Regions from separate parts of the Homo sapiens genome. Here regions 2, 3, 4, 5 and 6 are each linked to region 1. The links are contacts of gene promoters, found by promoter capture Hi-C in human tissues and cell types (Jung and others, 2019). All regions are on one chromosome and are shown on one strand. Each heading gives the region's core, a stretch centred on a gene start or on the middle of the fragment in contact. The rest is flanking DNA. Distances are from core to core; before and after follow the strand shown. Region 1 holds the start of HOXB1 (homeobox B1). Region 2 holds the start of COPZ2 (coat protein complex I subunit zeta 2). Region 3 holds the start of CBX1 (chromobox 1). Region 4 overlaps SKAP1 (src kinase associated phosphoprotein 1). Region 5 overlaps SKAP1 (src kinase associated phosphoprotein 1). Region 6 overlaps SKAP1 (src kinase associated phosphoprotein 1).

Region 1 (2,895 bases), core at 248-2,747:
TGCCTGGAAGCCCCATTGGTGGCTAGGTTCAGTTCAGGAGGTGACAGAGCTGGGTGAGGCTTCCGGGGAGGTGCATGTCGACTGGTCTGAGGCATCTCCAGCTGCCTCCTTGGGGCAGCCTGGTGGGGCTGGGGGGACCCGACCTTCCTCTCGCTCGCGCTTCTTCTGCTTCATTCGTCGGTTCTGGAACCAAATCTTGACCTGTGTTTCATTGAGCTCCAGGGTGGCGGCAATCTCCACCCTCCGGGCCCGGCTCAGGTACTTGTTGAAATGGAACTCCTTTTCCAGTTCTGTCAGCTGCCTTGTGGTGAAGTTGGTGCGGAGGCCACTGGGCGAGCCCAGGCCTGGCTCTGACACCTTCGCTAGGGGCGGGGCAGGGAGAAAGGCCAGGTCAATTCTCTCACCTCTTTCTCCTTCCGCTTCCCTCCTCCCGGGGCTGGCTCTGGACCTCCATTTGCCATTCTGCCCAAGTACAGTTGTCAAAGTTCCCAGGGACCACCAGGTACCCCCATGGTGATCACCAAGTCTGGAGCAGCCTTCCCCATACTTCCATCCCCCATGCACACCAGGTCCTGGGTCTGTGCTGGGTGCACAGATCAGGAAGTGGGGTGTGTATGGAAACTTACTCCTGGGGTGACCGGTTACATACTGGGTGGGGAGACCTCACCTGACCTGAGACGTAGGTTGTGCTCTTACCTGTGTCTACCAGAGCCGCTGAAAGAGAAGAACCCAGCCCAGACCCAGGACATGTCACTGCAGGGGAAGCAGAGATGCTTTGGGCCCCGGAGAAGGGGTGGCCACATCTGAGCCCTACCTGTCTTGGGTGGGTTTCTCTTAACCTTCATCCAGTCGAAGGTCCGGGCCGTGGGGGTGTTAGGTTCTGAAGGGCAGGGTGTTTCCTTGTCCTCGGAGAGGAGATCAGCATAGGCCGGTGCAAAGCTCGCGGTCTGCTCGTTCCCATAAGGGGGATGCTGCGGAGGATATGGCCCCGGACCGGCTCCACCTGCTCCGTAGCCATCGGACAAGCCCCCTAGCTGGGCCCCGTAGCTCGAGGGATGAAAATAGCCTCCGTCTCCTTCTGATTGACCCAGAGGGTAGTACTGAGAAGGCCCGTAGCTGGGGCTGCAGGCGGCAGGAGCATACCCCGAGGGCGCGGAGCTGGGGAAGGGCACCCCCAGGGTCGAAGGCGGCTGCTGGGCGGGATAGCCGGAGTTCTGCTGAAACGCAGGGCTGGACAGCCCCCCACCGTAGCGGCCCTCGCTTGCATAGCTGTCAACCGCCTGAGCCGAGCTTGGGGGAAAGGAGGTTGGGGCGCTGTGGGCGCTGTAGGCGCTGGGTCCCCGGTTACAGAGTGGGTACTCTAAGAAGGAGTTCATCCTATTATAGTCCATGCGTCAAGGCCGCAGGAGGGTCGGCCCGTTTGGGGGAGACACCCTCTTGCCCTACAACCTTTCGGCAGTATGTCACAGCGCTGGGGCTCGAATCCATGGCCTGACCCGCTCGCCTGGGCAAGCGCTTCCCTAGGAAGGGGGTAGGGAGTGGGGGTGAGGGGGCACATGTGATCTCTCCCAGGCCAATGGGCTAAGCGGGCCAGAGTTTGGCAGCCCCAGCGCCCATCCATCACCCCCCAAGCATTAGCATGACAAAGACACTTCAATCACCCGCAGCCCATCCATCTGAGAGCGACATGGAAGCGTCAAAAACATCTTTCTTCAAAGACTTTTGGAAAGAAGGGACCAGAGGGAGAGGGGGAAAAAGTTAGGAGAATATTCAAGACTTTCCTTCCCTCCCAACCCCCAAGGCCTTCAATAGGCTCCTGGGTTATTAGATTTGGACAAATTCAAGCCAGCTGCCCCTCACTCTTCCCACCCCTCAGAGAAACCTTCCCCCTAAGTCTGTGGACCTGGAGGTGGGGAATCCAGCTTCCATACTTTGCCCAGAACTCCCAAACCATGTTCCTTTCTTCCAATTTGTCTTAGGGTGGTGGGCTAGGACAGCCGGGTGAGGTATGTTATCTTGGGCCAAATGGATGACTGTGTGGTGGGGAGGTGGGGGAAGGTGGTGCAAAAACACCTAAGGGTGTGGGGCAGGATCTAGAATCTAGAGGAAGAATTCATGAAGCCAGGGGTGGGAAATTGGCATTTCAGGGAGCAAGGCAGGACTACAGAAATGTGGAGAAAAGGATGAGAAATGCCCCATCTTCCCTCTCTCTCTCTTTGCATAAATGTTCTCTCCTCATTCACACATCCATTTCTCTCCCTCAGCCTCTCTTTATATTCTCTCTGTCTCAATCCATCTCTCTGTTCGTCCATCTTTCTCCATATTTATATTCGTTCCCTACCTCTCATCTCTCTAGATGTATTTATCCTCTCTCTAGCCATCCATAGCTGTAGCTGGCTCACTCACTCAGACTTAAATAACTCCCTATATCTCTCTAGAGAGCCACAATGAGCACAGCCAGGTGATGTTTACAGCGGGGTGAAGAGGAGGGGAATTTTTTATTCTCTTCTTGAAGTGTTTAAAACTAGTGGAGACCTGCATTCTCCTGGTTCCCTCCTACCTGTCTCTCCTTCACCACCCTCCATCTCCTTCCAAAAAAAAAAAATTTCCAAACCTCAAATGCATAAATTTAATACCAGTTAAATCTTAAAGATTCCTCCAGATTTCAGTAATTTTTCTAGGATTGATAAAGGGAGTTTGGTCAGAGAGTGGGAGAATCGGGGTGGAGGCCCTGAGGCTCTGAATTCTAAGACTCCAGAGTGAGGAGTGGAGTCTCGCCCCTTTTTGTTCTGTGTGGCTGTTGCGGAGGGACACAGGATGTGTCTTCTTCACTCTCTCAGACTCCAAACCCAGATGGGACTAGAAGAGAAGCCCTTAGGTAGAGCCCATTGACTC
Region 2 (2,895 bases), core at 251-2,750, 490 kb before region 1:
ATAAAATTTGAGTTTGGATCTGTTAGGATATTAATACTTGTGACCTCAGGCAACTCACTTAGCTTCTCTACCCCTCATTTTCTTCATCTACGAAATTAAAGAGTTGGATTATACAGTTTCTAAAATCCCATCTGGTTCTAAATCCTTAGACTCCTTAGACTAAATCGTTAGTGTTTACCAAGCTGTAGAACAAAAGTGGAGGTTTAGAGACAAACCCCAAAGAACAAAAGAACTTGTGTGGGGGTTTGGGGACTAAGACTCCTGGGTCCCAGGCTCAACACTCCACTGACCCATTAGGCAGAACCTTCCCATGCCCAGGTCCAACTGGCCAGTAGCAGGATGATAAGGAAACATTTCAGGGAACATGAGTAGAAATAGAGGAGACCCCTCATTTCAGGGAGCAGCACCTTGACAAGGCAGGAGGATGAGAAGGACCTCTGGAGGGGTCTAAGCTGAGCTGCCCTGAGTCACAGAGATCACAGTGGAGTTTCTCCTGAGACAGGAGTGTCAGCTGAGTGGGAACTGTGTCCCTCATGGGTGGGGTCAGAGGTTACCTTGGCCAGCAGCCGGCGCCCGTCATTATCTAGGATGAAAACAGCCTTGATGGTGTAGAGGGAAGGTTCCTGCAACTGACACCGGAGAGGAGAGTTCCGTTTGGCCCCTGACTCGAGGTGGACACCCTGTGTCTATGGGATCTGCTGGCCCTAGGATACATCCTCAGGCCCCAGCAACCCCAGTCCTCAAGGTCCACAGCTGGTTCTGCCCAGCCCTGTGCCACATGGGCCAACCCAGGTGCCCACTCCACTCCCAGGCAGATGTTCCACTGCAGGCCCCGAGTGGGCGCTGTGCCCGTTGGGTGCAGAAGGTCCTTCCGGGCCCAAGTTCTGTCATGCACTGACTGCTCCAGAGCCCGAGTCGGAGTGTATCACAGAACCTGGGCCGGGGGGGACAGCGGGCCGAGCCTCCTTCTTCCAGCTGATCCCTGGCCGGGCTGGACCTGCGCTATCAGCGCGCCCCCAGGCCCTGGCCCGGGTAGACTCCAGAAGCATGCCCATCACCCACCGGTGATGGGAGCCGAGTCTGGGACGGACAGGCCACTCCTTACCCTCCCCGCGGAATCGCAACTCACCCGCCACCCCCACTCCAAACGGACCCAGAACTTCAGCCCCGCGCCGACGGACTCAGGACAGGCCTCCTCTCCGGTCGGCGCTGGGACGAACTTTTCCTCCCGGGTCCTGGGGCCAGTCAGGGGTGACACAAAGTTCCCAGCCGCCGGGCGCGCGAGTTCTGAGTTGGCTGCTCCCCCTAACCCTGCTCTGTCCCTGCCCAGCTCCCGCCGCCCGGGATCCCCGCGCCCGCCCGCTCCGTACCCGCAGCCCCGAGGGCTCCCCGGCTCGAGCAGGCGGCGCCGGGCCCCCGGCCTGGGCCGCCGCGGCCCCCTCCCCCGGGTGCGGACGTGGCCAGGCCTCGGGCCGCTGCATTCCGCTCGCCGCCTCGCACTGACAGCGCCGCCCGCCGCCTGCCCGCCGCCGCCGCCCCGCCTCCGCGCCGCCCCGCGGCCCCCTCTCGCGCGTGGCCTCCCTTTCCTCGGGGCCCCGTCCTCTTGCTCGTTCTCCCCCATCTCCCCTCCCGCCCTCACCCCACCTCTCCTTCCCCCACTTCTCCTCTCCCTCTCTCCTCCTTGGCTCCTTCCCGAGTCCCTTACATCCCCGAACTCTGCATCCTCAGGGTGCCCCAAGACCAGCCCTCGTCCTGCTTCCTGCCTGCTCTCCGGCCTGTGGCTTTGGTGTGCGCCAGTGTCTATAGGCTGTCCTGGGGCCAGCAGCAAACACAAGCAAAGCCCACTTTTGTCTGTTGACCTCTGGTAGGTACCATGAGGACAAATACGTCAGGTCACCCTTTAGATCTCAGGGACAGGGTCTATAAGCAAGAGCAAATGAGGACAGTTCTGGGGACACCCCTCTGTGAAGAGGCTTTCTCATTCCTCTCTCACTACTTGCAGAAGGCAACCATGGGCCCGGAGACACCTCCCCAGGCTCTCCTAAGTCACAGATATGGCACCATCAGAAGCAAGACAGACGCCCAGCAGCACAAATGCTCCACCAATGACATCGGGCTTTGCAGCATGTTTTGGTTTCTTTGGTCTAAGTCTAACTAAGACAAGCTCTCATTTCAGGGTACACTGGCAAGTGGGAAATTCACATCCCAGTGATATGTTAGTGCTACGTATGCATTTACCGGTAAAAACACTGTGCGTGTATTTTACATTTGACACCTTCACATCCATTATCTAATATAGCCCACACCTGTAAGATAGGCATAATGGACCCTCATTTTAAGCAAAGAGAGACTCAGAGGTTGTGTGACCTTTTCAAGACTATACAGCTAGTTGACTGGGGATAGAACCCAGATTTTTGACTCAAAATTTCTTCCCTATTCTTCTCTTCAAGCCCTCTTATGTTGTGGACCACAGTCACTTACCCTAGATGGTTACAGAATGGGGTTTTCCTCACTGAATGCATCAAGTCTTCTTATCTTCAAGCCTCTGCTGAAATATAATTACCAAAAGGTCCTCCTGACAGCCACCATATCTGACTTGATAGGTCTCTCCTGTCACATTCTCTCAGTTCCTATTTCTTTCTTTCATTGCACTTTTTTCAATCTCTAAATATTATTTTTACTAATATTGCTTGTTTGAGACACGGTCTCACTCTGTTGCCCAGGCTGGAGTGCAGTGACTCGATCTGGGCTCACTGCAGCCTCAACCTCCTGGGCTCAGGCAATCCTCCCATCTCAGTCTCCCGAGTAGCTGGGACCACTGGTGCATGCAACCACTCCCAGGTAATTTTTTATTTTTTTATTTTTTTTATTTTTGTAGAAACAAGGTCTCAAGTC
Region 3 (2,895 bases), core at 247-2,746, 430 kb before region 1:
TACAAAAATTAGCCGGGCGTGGTGGCGTGTGCCTGTAATCCCAGCTAGTCGGGAGGCTGAGGCAAGAGAATCGCATGAATCCGGGAGGTGGAGGTTGCAGTGAGCCAAGATCGCACCACTGCACTCCAGCCTGGGCAACAGAGGAAGACTCTTCTCAAAAAAAAAAAAAAAAAGAGGTAAAATATAGCTCACTCTATTCAAATTTTCCAACAAGGAAAAGCTGGCTAAAAACAGAAGGGCCCACGAAACAAATATTACCTCACAATCTCACATAATTTTCCTATGTCTCCCAATTTCTCGCACCTCACACGATCTCACAATCTCTCACTACCTCACGCCGTTCCTCAACTATTAACTCATCTACATATTTTTACAATTTCATCACCTTTGTGAGACCAGTTACGATCCCACACAAAAACGTACGGAACTAATTTTGAATCAAAGCAAGAACTGCACTTGGACTTTTTTAACTCCCCAAAGGAATCATGGAGTGAAGGTAGTAGGAAACCTGGAAAACTGAAAAAAGCGTATTCCATCCTTTCTTCGCACATTATTCTTACAGCCTCCCCACTGTAAGGACCCATCAGGATGCAAGGGCGGCCTGCTTTCCCCTTTTTTCTTACATACCTTATAGAAATATTCTCGGGATCTCCGCCCTACTTATCCTAACAGCTCCTCCCCTTCCAGAGTCAGGCCCAGCAAACGCCTGCCCCTCCCCCTCCGTGTCCCCTTTCCCAATTTATTCCACACATCTCCTCCTCCAATCAGCACACCTTGTGCGGCCCTGGGCCCTCTTCCAATTCACTCGACGTTACTCCTCCGTAGTCCTGCAAAGCCAGGTTCCTCTGGCAGTCCCAGCCGGACCCGGCGTCTTCCGAATACAGTTACAAACCTCGGGTTGTGCGGTCGTATGCGCCTCCTCACGCCTATCCAAGCCTCAAGCCTGTCCCCTTCCGCCCTATCCCGCAGCCGCCCAGCCAAGCAACATTGTTCCAGACCACCCGGGCCCCGAAGAGCGGCCCCCAAGTGCTCGGCCCACCCCCAAGCACTCAGTCTCTGGCTCAGGATTCGCGCCCCGCCCTCTCCATCCTTCACGCAGCTGGCACCGACGCCTCAGCGACAGGCGAAGAGCTCAGCGCGGGAAGCGGAGAAGCAGGACGCTGGACCCGGGCGCGCTCCCCGCTCCTAACCTCCGCCTCGAAAGCGCGTTCCCTCACGCAGGGCTCCCGCCGCCGCCGCCGCCGCGCCCCCTCCCCCAGCTCTCCCGCCTCCAGCGGGCTCCTCACCTCAGAGCAGCGCCCAAGAGCCCGAGAGGAATCGGTGCTGCGCTGCTGGCGCGTCGCGTCGGGTCGCCTGGGGGAGTGGCGCCCAGGAAGGCAGCAAGCCGGGTGGCCGCAGTGGCGTCCCTCACTGAAGCGGCGTACCGCAGGCCCCGGCCAACGGCCCTCCCCTCAGCCGAACAAAAGAGCCTCGCAGTCTGCGCTGCCCGCCGCTCGCACCGCGCAGGCGCAACGACCCGCCGCACGGCACCATGGGCCTCGGGGGTCTGTCCAAGACTACAAGGCCCGAAGCGCCGCGCGCCGCGCACGCACAGTAGGCGAGGGTGGTAGGGACTTATAGTTTTTAAACTGTAACGGTGGAGAGATTGCAGCGTAGAGCGTTGTAACCTAGAATATTAGAACATATGGGCCAGGGGCAGTCGCTCACGCCTGTCATCCCAGCACTTTGGGAGGCCGAGGCGGGTGGATCACCTGAGGTCAGGGGTTCGAGACCAGTCTTACCAACAAGGTGAAACCCTGTCTCTACTAAAAATGCAAAAATTAGCCGAGCGTGGTGGCAGGTGCCTGTAGTCCCAGCTACTCAGGAGGCTGAGACAAGAATTGCTTGAACTTGGGAGGCGGAGCTTGCAGTGAGCCGAGATCCAGCCACTGCGATCCAGCCTGGGCGATGGAGCGAGACTCCATCTCAAAAAAAAAAAAAAAAAAAAATTAGAACATATGATTTTTATAAGCGAGCCCCCTGATGCTTGGCCCCCAAAAAATCAACCACTTCTGGACAGTTCTGTAATTCACATCCTCAAAATTTTTGAATCTTAGATTCTTCACCAGAACTTTATCATATCGCCGCTGCCTCAAATTTCCAATGATTTCTTAGTCCTCAATCTCTGCCTCCTCAAATCTCTGTAAAATTCCTACTCACGCCGGCACGGTGGCTCAAGCCTATAATCCCAACACTTGGGGAGGCGGAGGTGGGTGGATCACTTGAGGTCAGGGTTTCAAGACCAGCCTGGCCAACATGGTGAAACCCCATCTCTACTAAAATACAAAAATTAGCTGGGCGTCGTGGCGGGCGCCTGTAGTGCCAGCTACTCGGGAGGCTGAGGGAGGAGAATCGCTTGAACCCAGGAGGTGGAGGTTACAGTGAGCCGAGATCGCGCCATTGCACTCCAGCCTGGGCAACAAGAGCGAAACTTCGTCTAAAAAAAAAAATACTGTTCAGTGTTAAGATTACTTCCCCTTTGAGGTCTTCCCTGATTCCCTAGAGTAGGTTAGGTCCCCCCATAGGCCTCTCATAGCTTCCTGAATTTCCCCCTTTTCACTGGCTGCGCCACAAAAATGTCCTCTTTTTCATTGTAAGTTGTGCTCACCTTTTTCAGTGTCATTAATCTCCGTCAGCACCTTTCACCCAATCATCCCAAGGAAACACACAATTAGGAAAAAAACATGTTTTTAAGCCACAATATAACTAAAGTTTTATTTTTTTATTTTAAAGTATCCTTCTAATCAGGAGGAAGAGGGAAACTCTATTGCACTCTACCCCAAAAGGCAAGAGTTTGCATTTATAAGACAGTTTTGCTGATGCAGGCACTGTTCAGGGCAGGAGTTTGCATTTATA
Region 4 (2,895 bases), core at 106-2,605, 390 kb before region 1:
ATGGTATGGCTTCTTAGAGAAAGTTGGGCACACATTAAATTGCCAGAACACTACAGATATTCAAGGGGTCAAGTCATAGTTCAAATCAATAATATTTATCAAGCATCTTCTATGTGCAAAGTGCTGTTTGAGTTCCCATGAGGTATGTAATGATGAATCAGAAGATTGCTTGCTCCTTGGGAGCTTACAGCAGAGTAATGGGCTTTGGAGTCAGACAGACTGAGATCTAATCCTCGCTTGGTCATTTAGTAGTCACATGACCTTAGGTTCTCCTAGCTTTAGCTTCTTTGTGAGAGTAGGGATAATATCTCCCTTCTATCTTGTGGGGATGTAAATTGTATCACTGAAGTAAAAACAACTGAAAGTGTTTGATACATAGTAGATGCTCTAAACATTAGATTCTTTCCCTAGAACAGGTGAGAGGTGACAGGTACATTAATAATGACAGGCTAGTCACAGAGAGGAACAAACAAGAAAGAGGATGAGAGGGTTTTAAAGAGAGTTTAAGGGGTAGTCACAGAGTGAGGATGCAGCTCCTTGAATACAGAAAAGCTTCTCAAAAGCACAGCAGATGTTGAAGAGTATGGGGCTATTTCTTTTTTTTTTTTTGAGACGGAGTCTCGCACTGTCGCCCAGGCTGGAGTGCAGTGGCAAGATCTCAGCTCACTGCAACCTCCGGCTCCCACGTTCAAGCAATTCTCCTGTCTCAACCTCCTGAGTAGCTGGGATTACAGGTGCGTGCCATCACACCCGGCTATTTTTTTTTTTTTTTTTTAGACAGAGTCTGGCTCTGTCTCCCAGGCTGGAGTGCAGTGGCGCAATCTCGGCTCACTGCAACCTCCACCTCCCAGGTTCAAGCGATTCTCCTGCCTCAGCCTCCCGATTAGCTGGGATTACAGGCGCGCACCACCACGCCCGGCTAATTTTTCTATTTTTAGTAGAGATGGGGTTTCACCATGTTGGCCTTGATGGTCTTGAACTTCTGACCCCAGATGATCCACCCGCCTCAGCCTCCCAAAGTGCTGGGATTACAAGCGTGAGCCACTGCGCCTGGCCACAACTGGCTAATTTTTTATATTGTTGGTAGAGATGGGGTTTCATCATGTTGGCCAGGCTGGTCTCAAACTCCTGACCTCAAGTGATCCACCAGCCTCGGCCTTGCTAAGTGCTGGGATTACAGGCGTGAGCCACTGTGCCCACTCTGAGTATGGGGCTATTTCTGATAGCACCAGAAAATGTTTTCTTTCTTTTGAAAGAAGTAAAATTAGAATGAAAAAAAAATTTTTTTTTTTTGAGACAGAGTCTCACTCTGTTGCCCAGGCTGGAATGCAGTGGCACAATCTTGGGTCACTGCAACCTCCACCACCTGGGTTCAAATGATTTTCCTGCCTCAGCCTCCTGAGTAGCTGGGACTACAGGCTTGCGCCCAGCTAATTTTTGTATTTTTAGTAAAGACGGTGTTTCACCCTGTTGGCCAGGGTGGTCTCGAATTCCCGACTTCGTGATCTGCTCACCTCGGCCTCTCAGAGTGCTGGGATTACAGGTGTGAGCCACTGTGCCTGGCCAAAATAAATTTTTTTTTTTTTGAGATGGAGTCTCGCTCTTTTGCCCGGTCTGGAGTGCAGTGGTGAGATCTCAGCTCACTGCAACTTCTGCCTCCTGGGTTCAAGCGATTCTTCTGCTTCAGCCTCCTGAGTAGCTGGGACTACAGGTGTGCACCACCACGCCCAGCTAATTTTTTGTATTTTTAGTAGAGACGGGGTTTCACCATGTTGGCCAGGCTGGTCTTGAGCTCCTGACCTCGTCATCCACCCGCCGCAGCCTCCCAAAGTACTGGGATTACAGGTATGAGCCACCGTGCCTGGCCCCGAATGAAATTTTAAGTATGGGAAATATCACATATTCCAGTTCAATTGGATTTGGGGTACCAAAGAGCTAACTGCTTCTTTGTACACTTGGTTGCTGAGTACTATTAGGAAAAACAAAACAAAAGAAGTAAAACCAGATTGGTGATATGTAAAATTCAGAGTCCCTAGCATTATCTGGTGATCTTTTTATCTCTGGATGCATATAATTATCATAGAATTATGATATCTAATATCTCCCCTCCTCAAACTCATGTTGCTTCTGACAACCTCTTCTCCACCTTCAAAGGGAAAAGAGAAGCCATCAGATTTGTCAGCCACCAGCCACCAAAGCAGGAACTTACCTGTATTGACAACCATCTTTCTTTCCCATTAAAGTCGGGGAAGCACCCCTCCCCTGGTTTAAGACTACCCCTCACAACACGCACTTGCAACCCTCCTCCTTCCTTTCCGAGAGATGAGGTTCTGTGGAGACTGACCATTGCCTGTAAAGTAAATGGCTCCTTCCACCAGCACTGAAAGGTGTTCAAGTTTCTCTCATTTTTTAAAACAACCATTAAATAGCTGCCACTGATGTCTACTTCCCATTTCTTCTAGTCTATGCCACACTTGTTGGGAAAGTTTACTCACTCACTGCTCCAACTTCCTTCCTGTTCACTGTTGAAGCCGCTCTCATCAGGCTTGGTTGCCGTCCTCTACTTAGGCTCTCTCTCCATGGTCTCCTGTAACCTCTGCATTGCTCAAATTCCCTGAGCACTTCTCAGTCCTTAACTTACTTGATCTCTCAGCAGTGCTGGCACTATTGGTCCTCCTTGAGGCCTTTTATTCTCTTAGTTTCTATGATAATTATACTCTCCTGGTTTCTCTCCTTCTACTTCTACTTCTTCTCATTCTCCTTTGCAGGCTCATCTTGCTCAATTCTGCTTTTTAATGTGGTTGTTTTCCAGGGTTCTGTCCTGGCCTTCTCTTCTGTCTTGATGCGCTTTACTAGAGCAATCCCATATATCTCTGTAGAGTATCCACCATGTCT
Region 5 (2,895 bases), core at 170-2,669, 310 kb before region 1:
TGAGTTTGGTGGCTTCAAGCTAGGCTACCACTGATATTTATCCTTAAACAAAATCACAAATCATTTGCTAACAGCTAGGATCAGAGACCTGGGGCTGAGACAGTAAGAATGTTGCAGGTCAGGAGGAAGACTAGCTGGCAGAGTTGGGTTAGGGAAGCAGCCATTTCCTCTAGGTCTCCAGCTTGGCTTCAGCTTATGTTACCAACCAACCCTTCTCATCCATAAACACTGACATTCACACTGATTTTACAACCTCTCTTTGCCTGGCAAACCCAACATCAATATTCCCAACAGCATTTCATGAAACCTCTAGTTATCAAAGTCCTCATCACTTAATCAATTCTAAGAATAATAATTTCATAAACACTATGGAAAAGGAGTCCTATTATTAGACTGTAACTGTCCTTAGCAAAATAATGGAACTTGGTTGTTCTAGTGAATTCTAAATTTAAACACTGCTTGCTCTGTCTCCACTCAACGAAGAGCTTGTGTGCTACTCTGATGAAAATGCAAAGAATTAGAAAACAATGACTGTGTGAATGACATTTACAGAGATCTCATACTGGAAAGGGCACATTTTATTGTGACTTTGTGTCAAAAGTGTAGTTTCATCAGAGCACAGGAGGCAAAAGAAACAGGCAATCAATACTTGGGCCTCTAATATCTGAACTGAGAAAGAAAATCATTATCCTGTTACTTCTATTGTAGGGTGATGCTTGAAATACTGCACCTTGTTTCCATAATAATTCAATATTTTGGGGGTTTCAGATTGTTAAAAAAAAAACCCTCATGGGGTGGCCATGTGAAATCAGAACATGAAGAGTAGAAAGGAATAAACATGCACACATTTTACAGTGGGAATAAAGAGAAAGGCAGATTAAGAAAGAGAAATAGAAAAAATATAACAACCTAATTTCCTATTAGTATTTATCTAATAGTATATGTTTAATTTTGGAATCTCTAGAATTAACCTGAAAGAGTTCTTTGCTTCCAATTTTTTGAACAAAACACACAGATTTCCAATAGAGAAGAGTCCCCTCAATATTAATGAGGTTACTTGGGCAGAATTTTTATCTCTAGATTTATTGAAAATTGTATTCCATTGTTGAGAAACTAAAACCCAGGTGGGAACCATGTGGAATGTGACATTTGATTTTAAAAGTCAGTTGTACTATTCACTTCTCATTGGCAAAAAAACTGGCCACTGAACTTGAACTTCTTGCTGACAAAAGGAGAGGAATTATCATCCACAAACCTTTTTGAAACTCTTATATGTCCAGCCTCAAATAAAGCACCAGTTCTGCCTATTTCTAATATGACTGTTTATTGGTTAGTATTTTCAAAACACTTCAAGGCAATTAAACCCTTCCCCCTCTAGATTTCAGCATCCAGTTTAAAAGTCTCTCTGAATACATATTATGGAGAATAGGGTCATGTCAGTTAATGTTAGTTGCAAAAACAAGTACAGCTGTCCTCAACCTGACTTTCATACTTTTGTGTGTTGGTACCATAACCCAGTTATTTAAATTCTGGGTTTTTTCCTCTTAGAATTATTATTGATGAAATTAGCATTATATAGTCATAAAGTCATTACCTGCTTTTCTAGGCTGTCTGCTGCACCCCCATGGAGAGCTAAGTGGGCCCTTAATGAACAAGAAAAGGTTATCTGGCTGCACACGGTGTCTCCCAGTCTGCTCTGGCTAGAAGCTACAGCAGCCACAGATAACAGTTCAAAGTCATGCAAATGAGGGCTAGGCTACCACTTTGTTCCTCACAGAGGAGATGTTCCTGTGATCCACTGGCAAATGTACAATGGAAGCAGGAAAAAAGGATATTTTCAGAGACCTAATCCCTCCAGGCAGCTGGTTTATTTCAATTGAAGAAACTACTACAGCCACCCACCAGAATTGCTAAAATTAAGAAACACTGACAATACCAAGTATCAGTGAGAATGAGGAGCAACTGGAATTTTCACACATTGTTGGTGGGAGTAAAAATGGTACAAGTCTGTTGGAAAAATGTTTGGTAGAATCTCCTAAAGCGGAATACGCACATACCCTCTAATTCAGCAATTCCTCTCCTAGCTATATACCAAACAGAAATGCCAACATAGTGGTGCTCCAAAAGTCTGATATAAGATTGTTCACAACAGCATTATTTACAATATTTCCAAAGCAGAAAAAAACCATACGTTTACCTACCATAGAATGAAATAAAATGAATAAAGGAAATACTATATAGTAATGAGAACAAAGGAACTACATGTGTTTTGCTACATGCAAAAACACGGACAATCCTCACAAATATAATGCTAAATGAAAGAGTCCAGACACACAAAAGTATATATAGTATGAATCTGTTCATATGAAGTTCAAGTATAGGCAAAATTAATCTGGTGATAGAAGTCAGAATAGTAGTTATTTTGGTGGAGATAACTGGGACGGGGCATAAAGAGAAGTTTCAGGCCAGGTGCAGTGGCTCACGCCTGTAATCCCAGCACTTTGGGAGGCTGAGGTGGAAGGATCACTTGAGGTCAGGAGTTTGAGACCAGCATGGCCAACATGGTGGAACCCTGTTTCTACTGAAAATACAAAAGCCGGGCGTGGTTGCACATGCCTGTAATCCCAGCTACTTGGGAGGCTGAGGCACAAGAATCGCTTGAACCCAGGAGGTGGAGGTTGCAATAAGCCCAGATTGCGCCACTGCACTCCAGCCTGGGTGACAGAGCGAGACTCCATCTCAAAAAAAAAAAAAAAAAAAAAAAAAGAAAAGAAAAAAAAAAGAAAGAGAAGCTTTAGGGGTGCTGGTAATGTTCTATATCTTGATGTGGGTAGGGCTTACATAAGTGTGTTCACTTTGTTAAAAAAAATCACCAGGGTGGGCACGGTGGCTCAC
Region 6 (2,895 bases), core at 268-2,767, 290 kb before region 1:
GTTAATCTATTCTTCCATTAAATTTTACTTTAATTGGTCTGTGAGTCAATCAGAAACTCACTAGACAGTGAATTAAGAAAGAAAAGAGTGAAATAGAAAAAGCTTTCTTTTGCAGTTACTATATTATAATGCAGAATTATTCTTCCATTGAAAGAAAACTGAGACCATTGGTCCATACAAATAATCCCTGGCTCTGTAAAGAAAATGAGAGAAAAACAGGCAACCATGAATCCTACTCACTGGTGACATTAACACATATGACATTACACATACTCACACGTATCTCACCAAGGAAAAGCAGGCTTCTCAGACCCCCTCCACCCCCACCAACAGTAATTAGAATGAGAGAGAGAGAGAGAGAGACAGAGAGAGAGAGAGAGAGAGAGAGAGAATGAACTTGAATCATGGCCTCTAAGAAAATTAATACAAAGAAAAATAAGCTGTTGAGAACCTCTATCATCAGTAACATAACTCTATAGGTACAAAAGAAGGTAGATGTTAAAGACCAAAGGTGGATCAGCTGAAATGTTCATGGATTCAGTTAGTAAAATGTTTGTGCAGTATTTAAGGCCATAATGGGCTCTGATAAAGATTCTCAGAATCTAATAATGGCCTCTCTGGACTTCTTGTCTAATTAGTGGAATAAGGAGCGAGCCAGCTTGGAATTGAGCATTGCTAGATATGAGGGAGAAGGGAAAAAAAAAAGCCAAAGCTGCAAGAAAAATAAACCAGAGTAAAGGAGAAGAAAAACAAGAGCAGCCAGTGCTTTCAGAACTGCTCCTGAGCTGACAACTGAAGTTTATGCCTTGAAATATATGATAATAAGATTTTATGGGAGTGAGCCCCAGGGACCCAAATGTCTCTCTGTAAACAACGGACCTCAGGGAAAAGCCAAGGTTTGAGTAATGTACTCAGTCTCCACTCATGATAAAAAAATAAAAAAAAGCAAAAAAGCAGTGAAGACAGGAAATAACTCCTTTTATTCTAACTGTAGAACCCTGAGTTGCAGCAAATGCCCTCTGAGGGCAAAGACAATCGACAACCAGTATAGAAATACAGTTGTCCCATATTCAGACAAGGGATTTAAACCTCAGCAGCCTCAAAAACCTGAGGTTGTATGAGAAGAACCTAGTAAAGTGCTGCCTGTCCACCCTTCACACATGGGCAATATATGTCCAGAAACCAAATGGTTTATTGTGCAGTGTTGTTCCAGTGGAATTACTGGAGGGACATCAGAATGACCTAATCCTTGAAGCATGTGCCAGTTATCCCAGTGCTGCAAAGAGTTAAACCTGAAAGTGCTGCCTGTTCCCACTCGTTCACAATCCAGATTACCTAGAAAGATATTACCAGCTGAACTCCACACATAGTATGATGGCTTCCTTTGAAGACTTGGGTCAGGTAAAGCTCAAAGTTAGCCTTAAGCAACTACTAAACGATGAAAGTCCCTAGTGTACTCTGAGACTAAATCAGGTTGCCTTTAAAATTCTTCATCTTCAAAGACAACAGCTCTATCCTCTTTTTATAAATGTGAGGCCATGAGACAGCAAAGTGCTATTTCTACTGGCATTAGTTCCACCTTATATATTAAAAAGATATTTGTTGTGCCCTAATCACTCTGGGTCCAAGATCATAAGGGACCTTGTTTCTTGGTGGGAGGCTATAGTGTGAAAAGGTTACTTAGTCATCACTAGCCTCTAGCAATGCTGGAACACCACACATGGGGCTCCTCAAACAGGAAGTCAAAGCCAGTTCTGACCCCTGGATGAACTCTGCATTTTCGGGCAAGAGGCCTGATGAATCTCCAGGGACAGTGCTGCCCTGTGTCTCTGTGTCCATATGTATGTGTTTACTCCTCTGTGTGCATGTGTGGAGGTGGGTGGTACTGAAGGGAAGCAGGGTGTGAAGGTTCTGGATAATTATGAAAATTAGATCTTTTACAGCAGGCTTCAAGCTCAATTTGGGCTGACAGCTCATGAACAGATCATCTGAAGTCTTAATAGGCCAATGCTAGTTCAATAGTTGTATGGTTAAATCATGCACATTTGTGCCTCAGCTGACACAAAAAGCAGACCCAGATGCCTCACATGGATCATGCAGATAAGTCTATATTTAATACTCTTCCTCTCTCGGGGAAGGCCTAACAAAGCAAAACAAAACAGATCTAAAACCATGCTTAAAACTTTCACCAGCCAAAGAAACATTCCAACATTCTTTTCACTATAAAACATCTAATAGTAGAAATGATACATGATTGATAAAGTGATTCTAAATATACTTAATTCTGGTGTCTTTTCAAAATATTTCTGAACCCAGCAGTAACAGATATAATCTTCCAAACTGGGAGTTTTTTCCATTTTTAGTTACCTGTCCCAAAAGCACTTATTCTCTTACTTTCCATTCTTTGCTGGTAGTTTTGTACAATGATGTCAAGATATCAAGGCTCCTGACACATCCTGAATTCTGAAAGAATGTGCTTCCTGAATATTCCTGATAATGGGCTTAGTATCAAAGGGGTTAATGAGGTTGAGTTAAGACAGCATTTCCTGCTTGAAGGAGAACTGAGTCCAACAACACTAGAAGCATTTTCTTATTATTTTTCTCTGCGTTTGCAGTAACTGCTTCTCCTGGAAGCTTTACCTGGGGGAAGGGATAAAGCAATATCACTAACCTGCCTGGCATCTGGCTTCCAGCAGGGAAAGAGGCTCATCCACCTCACCCCTCGGGCTTCTTTAACTGAATTAGCTGTATTAAGTGCCTTGGTAGCCCAGGGAATGAACGTCGTTGATCAGTGTGCCTAGAAAGGCATGTTTTCAGGGTATAATTCTGCCGGAGGAGAATGGACTCCCCAGCACATGGGCCTAAACTGCAGAGTAACAGAGCCCTAAATCTCCA

Evidence for each region. The method cuts DNA at HindIII sites, captures the fragments that hold promoters and counts their contacts. A contact is called where the count stands out against the background at its distance.
Region 2: a contact is called between the fragment with the promoter of COPZ2 here and the fragment with the promoter of HOXB1 in region 1, in 1 of the 25 tissues and cell types used here (lymphoblastoid cells).
Region 3: the fragment with the promoter of CBX1 here is called in contact with the fragment with the promoter of HOXB1 in region 1 in 2 of the 25 tissues and cell types used here (heart left ventricle and lymphoblastoid cells).
Region 4: a contact is called between a fragment that was not itself captured here and the fragment with the promoter of HOXB1 in region 1, in 2 of the 25 tissues and cell types used here (adrenal gland and bladder).
Region 5: a fragment that was not itself captured here is called in contact with the fragment with the promoter of HOXB1 in region 1 in 3 of the 25 tissues and cell types used here (dorsolateral prefrontal cortex, spleen and thymus).
Region 6: a contact is called between a fragment that was not itself captured here and the fragment with the promoter of HOXB1 in region 1, in 2 of the 25 tissues and cell types used here (lymphoblastoid cells and mesenchymal stem cells).

Annotation. Positions count from the first base shown.
Region 1 is chr17:48,529,514-48,532,408 of GRCh38, forward strand. HOXB1 (homeobox B1) reads right to left here and starts at 1,498. Exons shown (of 2, transcript NM_002144.4): 1 at 815-1,498; 2 at 1-362. The coding sequence starts at 1,391. The coding sequence ends at 34. RefSeq lists an enhancer at 1,388-1,968. The HindIII fragment of the contact is 7,824 bases long and covers 1-2,895 here.
Region 2 is chr17:48,036,297-48,039,191 of GRCh38, forward strand. It overlaps COPZ2 (coat protein complex I subunit zeta 2), which reads right to left and starts at 1,501. Exons shown (of 9, transcript NM_016429.4): 1 at 1,371-1,501; 2 at 555-629. The coding sequence starts at 1,481. MIR152 (microRNA 152) reads right to left here and starts at 951; the gene lies at 865-951. RefSeq lists an enhancer at 2,618-2,667. The HindIII fragment of the contact is 11,602 bases long and covers 1-2,895 here.
Region 3 is chr17:48,099,982-48,102,876 of GRCh38, forward strand. CBX1 (chromobox 1) reads right to left here and starts at 1,497. Exons shown (of 5, transcript NM_001127228.2): 1 at 1,287-1,497. RefSeq lists enhancers at 1,230-1,829, 1,656-1,915 and a silencer at 1,236-1,285. The HindIII fragment of the contact is 10,755 bases long and covers 1-2,895 here.
Region 4 is chr17:48,137,614-48,140,508 of GRCh38, forward strand. All of the region lies in intron 11 of SKAP1 (src kinase associated phosphoprotein 1), which reads right to left. Among named protein-coding and RNA genes, the nearest start is that of MIR1203, 17 kb to the right of the region's middle. The HindIII fragment of the contact is 8,333 bases long and covers 1-2,895 here.
Region 5 is chr17:48,218,112-48,221,006 of GRCh38, forward strand. The region is part of intron 4 of SKAP1 (src kinase associated phosphoprotein 1); the gene reads right to left. Among named protein-coding and RNA genes, the nearest start is that of MIR1203, 63 kb to the left of the region's middle. RefSeq lists an enhancer at 1,226-2,068. The HindIII fragment of the contact is 4,962 bases long and covers 1-2,895 here.
Region 6 is chr17:48,239,487-48,242,381 of GRCh38, forward strand. The region is part of intron 4 of SKAP1 (src kinase associated phosphoprotein 1); the gene reads right to left. Among named protein-coding and RNA genes, the nearest start is that of SKAP1-AS2, 53 kb to the right of the region's middle. The HindIII fragment of the contact is 4,655 bases long and covers 1-2,895 here.